2 separate regions of the Homo sapiens genome follow, and region 1 is linked to region 2. Evidence: promoter capture Hi-C in 16 types of primary human blood cells and fetal thymus (Javierre and others, 2016). All regions are on one chromosome and are shown on one strand. Each heading gives the region's core, a stretch centred on a gene start or on the middle of the fragment in contact. The rest is flanking DNA. Distances are from core to core; before and after follow the strand shown. Region 1 overlaps WASHC3 (WASH complex subunit 3). Region 2 holds the start of ARL1 (ARF like GTPase 1).

Region 1 (3,187 bases), core at 688-3,187, 650 kb after region 2:
CAATGACTTTTTTTGGATATAAACCCCAAAGCACTGGTAACAAAACCAAAAATAAATAAATGGGATTACATCACACTAAGAAGTTTGTAGAATCTGGATTTTAAATTATTTTTTAAAAATTATTTTAAAAGACTACGAAGCTTTTGCACAGCCAACGAAACCATCAATAGAGTGAAGAGAACCTATGGAATGGGAGACTATATTTGGAAACCATATATGTGATGAAGGGAACCTCTGTACACTGTTGGTGGGAATGTAAATTAGTACAGCTATTATAGAAAATAGTACAGAGGTTCCACAAAAAATTAAAAATAGAACTACTATATGATCCAGCAATCCCACTTCTGGGTATATATCCAAAGGATGTAAAATTAGTACATTCAAGAGACATCTGTACTTGAAAGTTCACTGCAACATTATTCACAATAGCCAAGATACGGAATCAAAAGTGTCCATCAATGGATGAATGGATTAAAAAAAGTGGTATATATACACAATGGAATACTATTTAGCCTTAAAAAAGAATGAAATCCTGTCATTTGTGACAACATAAATGAACTGGAAGACATTGTGTTAAATGAAATAAGCCAGTCAAACAGAGACAGATACTGAATGATCTCACTTATATATGGAGGATAAAAAAGTACAACTCATAGAAATATTGAGTAGAATGGTGGTTAGCAGGGGCTTGGGGTTAAGAGGATTGGGGAGATGCGGTTAAAGGATACAAAATTTCAGTTAGGCAGGAGGAATAAGTTCAAGAGATCTCCTACATGTCATGGTGACTGCTGTTAATAACAATATATTGTATTGAAAATTGCTAAGAGAGGCGATTTTAAGTGTGCTCACCACAAAAAAAAGTAAGTACGTGAGGCATTGCTTATGTTAAATAGCTTGGTTTGGCCATTCCACAATGTATTCATATATCAAAACATCATGTTGTACATCATAAAAATACAATTTTTACCTGTCAATTTAAATAAAGAAATAAGATTTTTGAAAAAGGACAAAAGGCAATAGACTACCTTTAAACTTCATGAGGTTTTGATGAACAAACTTTTCTCTAGAGTTCAAAGAAGTACTAGAATACAGATACAGCCAGAACAGCTGCAGAGAAGTTGAGACAGGAACAGGAGGAGGTTAAAGAGTGACTCATGAGGCTTTGATCATAATCTATCAATAAATGAGATGACTATTGTTTTCTTTGATCTAGTTGTCAGTAAACAGCTCTCATTCAAGAACCATTAGGCACTACAAAGGTGAAGGGCTATCCCTGTTTCAGGACAGCTCAAACAAGTTGCTTTCATAGGTGTGTTTACTTGTTGCTTTGTTCTTTATTTTTCAGCTTGATGATAAGGGCTATGGGGATAAGAGTATTTGCTTCTTTCTGCTAGTAATCCTGGGACAGTCCCTTTCCAGATACTTCTCCATCTTGCCCTGGTATAAAAATCGAAGGGTGAAAACCTTGGCTTACTGGTTTTTATTCAGTCAATTTTATATCCTAAATTATTTAGAGAGATAGTAGGAACGAAATAAAACTGACTGGAAGCAAGCACCTAGTTTCTGGCCATTAACATATAAAACTAAATTGAATTAAGCCCCTTACTCTACCAATTACTATATTTTACTTTGTCTTAGAAGGCAGAAGAAATGTTGATAATTAGACAAAACAATAACTGGAATTTCATACAAGTAAAAAATAGTTTTCCCATCTCCATGCAATTTTTATTAATAGTAGTAACACACTTAACAAAAACTCTAATTGCTAAGGCTATACCTTACATAAGACAGAATGTTCAACAGACTTACTTGTGAATATCTAAGTCCCATAATTTACTTTGCTCTTTCCTTAAATGCAATTTCAACCCATGGTTCCCATTGTCTTCCCCATCCTCTTTTGGCTTTTTAAAAGACAGGGATTCCCTGGATCCTGGATCTAGTACCTAATCCTCTTTTTTAAAACAAAAACAAAAACAAAACACTGAGTTTCTCTGTTGTCCAGTCTTGTCTCAAATTCCCGGGCGCAAGTGATCCTCCTGCCTCTGCCTCCCGAGTAGCTGGGATTACAGGTGCGCACTGCTGTGCCAGTTCTGGTACCTAATCCCTAGTTGGGTACTTAATCCTTACATCACAAGTCATTTGCAGAAAATATTTTCATTTCTATAATCATATTTGATGCCAAAGTTATGTTTCTAGGCTATCTCCTCTAGCCATCTTTTAGATCCAGAATGTAAAATAAATTTAAACAATGTGGTTTTGGGGTACGGGAACGAATGACAAATTGCAAAATAAAAACTGTTTTCAACTGTGAAATTTTAGAAGCCGGGCGCGGTGGCTCACGCCTGTAATCCCAGCACTTTGGGAGGCCGAGGCTAGTGGATCGCCCAAGGTCAGGAATTCGAGACCAGCTTGATCAACATGTTGGAACCCCGTTTCTACTAAATATAAAAAATTAGCCAGGCATGGTGGCGCATGCCTGTAATCCCAGCTACTCAGGAGGCTGAGGCAGGAGAATCGCTTGAACCCGGGAGGTGGAGGTTGCAGTGAGCCGAGATCGCGCCACTGCACTGTAGCTTGGGTGACAGAGTGAGACCCTGTCTCACAAAAAAAAAAAAAAAAAAAAAAAAAATTAGATTTCCTATTGTTCCCTTTAATCGCAATAAGCCTGACTGACCTATCTCACAGGGACCTCTAGAACACTAACTCAGTAGAGGAGGGGTGCAGGATTGATTTTAACAGAGTAAAAGAGAACCTAAGATGTGTTAACACAATTGGGTGATGAGAGGTCACGGTACATGAATAAAGACTGTAATTCTTGTTTTACTCCATTTGTCAGTCTCAGCAGTGAAAGGTGATTTCCAGGCGACTCTATAAACCAGTATCACCGGACCTACCTCCTCACAAACTGTAGAAAAGCGGTTGAGGAACTGTACAGTGTGCACCACAAATTGGTTTAGAAAAGCCACCGTTCTTTTCTGTTGAATAGCTGGCACCTGTGTTACGTAAAAACAAACATGGTTCATACAGGAGGAACGTACACAGTGCAAATCTTTTCATATTTGGACATAATCACGAGGCACTTTGCTGTGTGATATGAATTTCTTGAAGGACTGGGAATAGTCATTAACTTGTTTCCTAAGCTGTGGGTGGGGTGTCCGAAGATGACAGAGGTGCACAAAAGTTTGAG
Region 2 (3,054 bases), core at 430-2,929:
CCTGGATGCGTAGGTGCATATTTTTCCTCCCAATGAAATATATTATTCAATATCAAACAAGTAATTAGTTATGTTACTATGTCCTTAGTTATGTTACTATTGTGTCATGCAGGCACAGAAGATAAACCAAATAATAAGAGAAATATGGCCGCGGCCTTTGGGAATCTCATTTTCTAATCAGCAGAATAGGAATATTTTAGCATGATCCCCTCACTACCCCTAAAAACCAAGGGGCCAGTAAGGAGGATAGTGGGACAATGTAATCCTCGCACAGGAAAAGTACTGTACAGCAGCAGTACCACTATAACCAACTTCAATCAGAGTTCTCCACGAAGCAATATAGCTAGTACAAGAAATTGAGAAAAAAGCTGAAAACAATAACTATTTTTGACAAAAAACCCACTTTTAAAAATAATAAAGCTCTATCCAATGCATCACAAAATATTCCCAGAAAGCTTCCTGTACACCAAGTATTGTGTAGGATAAAAAGCACAGTCCTTTTCCCATCCAGAGCCATTAGAGAAGATTAAAAACAAGTTACATTAATACAAAAAAAAATAGTTAACATCAGAAGTGATGCCACACTGTTATTTGGCAAAGACATGGCATAACTAAGAGCTGCGAGTTGAAAAATGAACAACACCATGGGCTAGAGAACCTTGGGAAAGTTCAACAGAATAGGTGTGACTTGACAAAGTCCTTTCTACCATTTACAGGTAGAAGAGAGGCGGAACAAAACTGAAGGCGGTTATGGAAGACAGGACAGCGCCTGTGATGCTTGGGAGCAAGAAGTATGCTCCCCAGAAAACTGTGGAGGGATTTAACCAAGCCAAAGAATCTGCACCTTCATTTGGAGGGTGAGAAACGAGTTAAAGAATGTGCACCCTCACTTGGGTTCTAGCGGGGCGAGGGTGTTACCTGATGCTTGTGAGAATGCAGTTCCCTCAATCAGCGGGCCAAGAACCAAGAATAAAGTTTCATTTGCCGACTAGAAATACCCGTATTATTACATGAAACGCTACAGCAGATTAGCAGACAAATGCCAAACTGGCCATAAAACAACATAAGCAACACCTGCTCTCAGGTTTTTCAAACTGACGCCGTCCCAGCGCCCCTGGTAAAGAGAATGATTAAGCTTCCACTCTGGGGCCGCAGCTCATCTTTCACCAAGAAACCTCGGCGAACCTGCGACTGACGCGTTGCCAGCCTCCGCAAGAACAACTCTGCCCAGCAAGTGGAGCTGGGGATGAGGGAAAACTTCATGATAAGGGTAAAGAACTCGAACCCAGGCTCTGCGGACGTCCCCAAGCTGTCCGGGTCCCTGGACCCCGCAGGAATCAAGGGGAACCGAGAGAGGACGGAGGAGAACGCGAGAGGCCGGATCCACCCCTACAGATGAAGATCCAAAGTGAGTCAAGTCCTCCGCGACCCGCCCCCTGAGGAGCTGGCTACTCTAGGGTATCCTGGCCGGCCCCTCTCCTCCTCTGCACCCCAGCCCTCGGCCGCGGCTCCCTCGAGCGCGCCCAGGTGCCCTTCTCGAACCCCTCACCCATGATGAACCCCCTGTCCTCCCTCGCCGATCTTCAGTGATTCCTTGGCCTTCGGCTGCAGCTCCGAGGCGGTTTCCTCGCAAGCCCAGTCAGCCAGCAACTTCCACGTCGGACTCCAGGCGGGGGCGGGAGCGAGGGTCAGCTGCGACTGCGCGCCGGGAACGGTGGCCTGAGCATCCGCGTCGTCGCTTTCGACTCACGGTCCCCGCTCACTGGATGTAGATACCGTGGAGGCCAGAAGAGACGAATAATTCAAAAACCTGAAGTCTCTCCTGCTTGTGTTTTTCTGGACAGAAAGAGCTTCTGAAATAGAGAAATTGGAATTTTTGTTTTAAATTCTGACACCAAAAAGTGGCGAATCTGACAACTGAAAATGCGAGTCGGGCCTCGATGAGTCGTCCCGGTCGAACGCTGGCGCAGGCTGCGGCGTTGCAGAGGACGCGTGTCCCGGAGCGCCCTGCGGGGCCAGCCCAACTCTCCCTAGGTGCTTTCTCCCAGAAAGAAACAAGACTACGTAATAATAATAGGAATGGTACCGCGCTGCCAATGCGGAGCAGCCTTGCACCTGAGGCCAGTAACCAGAGGTTTTTGTCTTCGCTGTGGCCTGCAGGACGAGGACCTCGCCGGCTTTTTTTCTCGCTGACCGAGCAGCTGAGACCGCCTTTCAGGGGTCGGCAGTGTGGACTGGCTGGTCCCGATCGTGGGGACCAGGGACTTATTCCCTCGAGGGTCGACTGTTGGAAGTAATGTAGGTTTTGATAGTGAAGTGTGTGGAGAGGAAGAAGGAAGCACACCTATAGGATGTGGAGAAGGGATTTCCCCTAGAGAAATTTTTAAAGGTTGAGCATGTATGTTTTGAAACTTCCCAAAGATCCATTGAAAAGTGAACCTTCCGGCCGGGCGCGGTGGCTCACGCCTGTAATCCCAGCACTTTGGGAGGCCGAGGCGGGCGGATCACGAGGTCAGGAGATCGAGACCATCGTGGCTAACACGGTGAAACCCCGTCTCTACTAAAAATACAGAAAATTCACCAGGCGTGGTGGCGGGCGCCTGTAGTCCCAGCTACTCAGGAGGCTGAGGCAGGAGAATCACTTGAACTCAGGAGGCAGAAGTTGCAGTGAGTCGAGATCGTGCCACTGCACTCCAGCCTGGGCGACAGAGCGACACTCCGTCTCAAAAAAAAAAAGAGAAAAGTAAACCTTCCATCCCTAATACCCTGTATCTCGGTGATCCCCAGTAGTCACTACTGTTAATACTCTCTTAGGTTTTCTTCCAAATCTTATTAATACCTTTGCATATTATGTTTTTATTTATGGTAGAGATTTTCATCCATTCAACAGAAGCTTATGGACTGCCTTTTTAGTTTATTTTAAAAGAATTTTTCTAGCTTTAAATAAAAATTGTATATATTTACAGTGTACCATGTGATGTTTTCATAGTTGTATATGTTGTGAAATGATAACATACCCATCACCTCACATAGTCGTGTGTGCTTGTGTGTATA

What was found. Contacts are between HindIII fragments. The CHiCAGO score rates a contact against its expected background, and 5 or more counts as called.
Region 1: a contact is called between a fragment that was not itself captured here and the fragment with the promoter of ARL1 in region 2, in 1 of 17 cell types (fetal thymus). The highest score is 6.4, in fetal thymus.

The regions. Positions count from the first base shown.
Region 1 is chr12:102,058,354-102,061,540 of GRCh38, forward strand. WASHC3 (WASH complex subunit 3) reads right to left here. Exons shown (of 7, transcript NM_016053.4): 2 at 2,895-2,993. Among named protein-coding and RNA genes, the nearest start is that of WASHC3, 2.0 kb to the right of the region's middle. The HindIII fragment of the contact is 3,599 bases long and covers 139-3,187 here.
Region 2 is chr12:101,406,093-101,409,146 of GRCh38, forward strand. ARL1 (ARF like GTPase 1) reads right to left here and starts at 1,680. Exons shown (of 6, transcript NM_001177.6): 1 at 1,550-1,680. The coding sequence starts at 1,553. RefSeq lists enhancers at 1,163-1,212, 1,293-1,342. The HindIII fragment of the contact is 1,758 bases long and covers 1,134-2,891 here.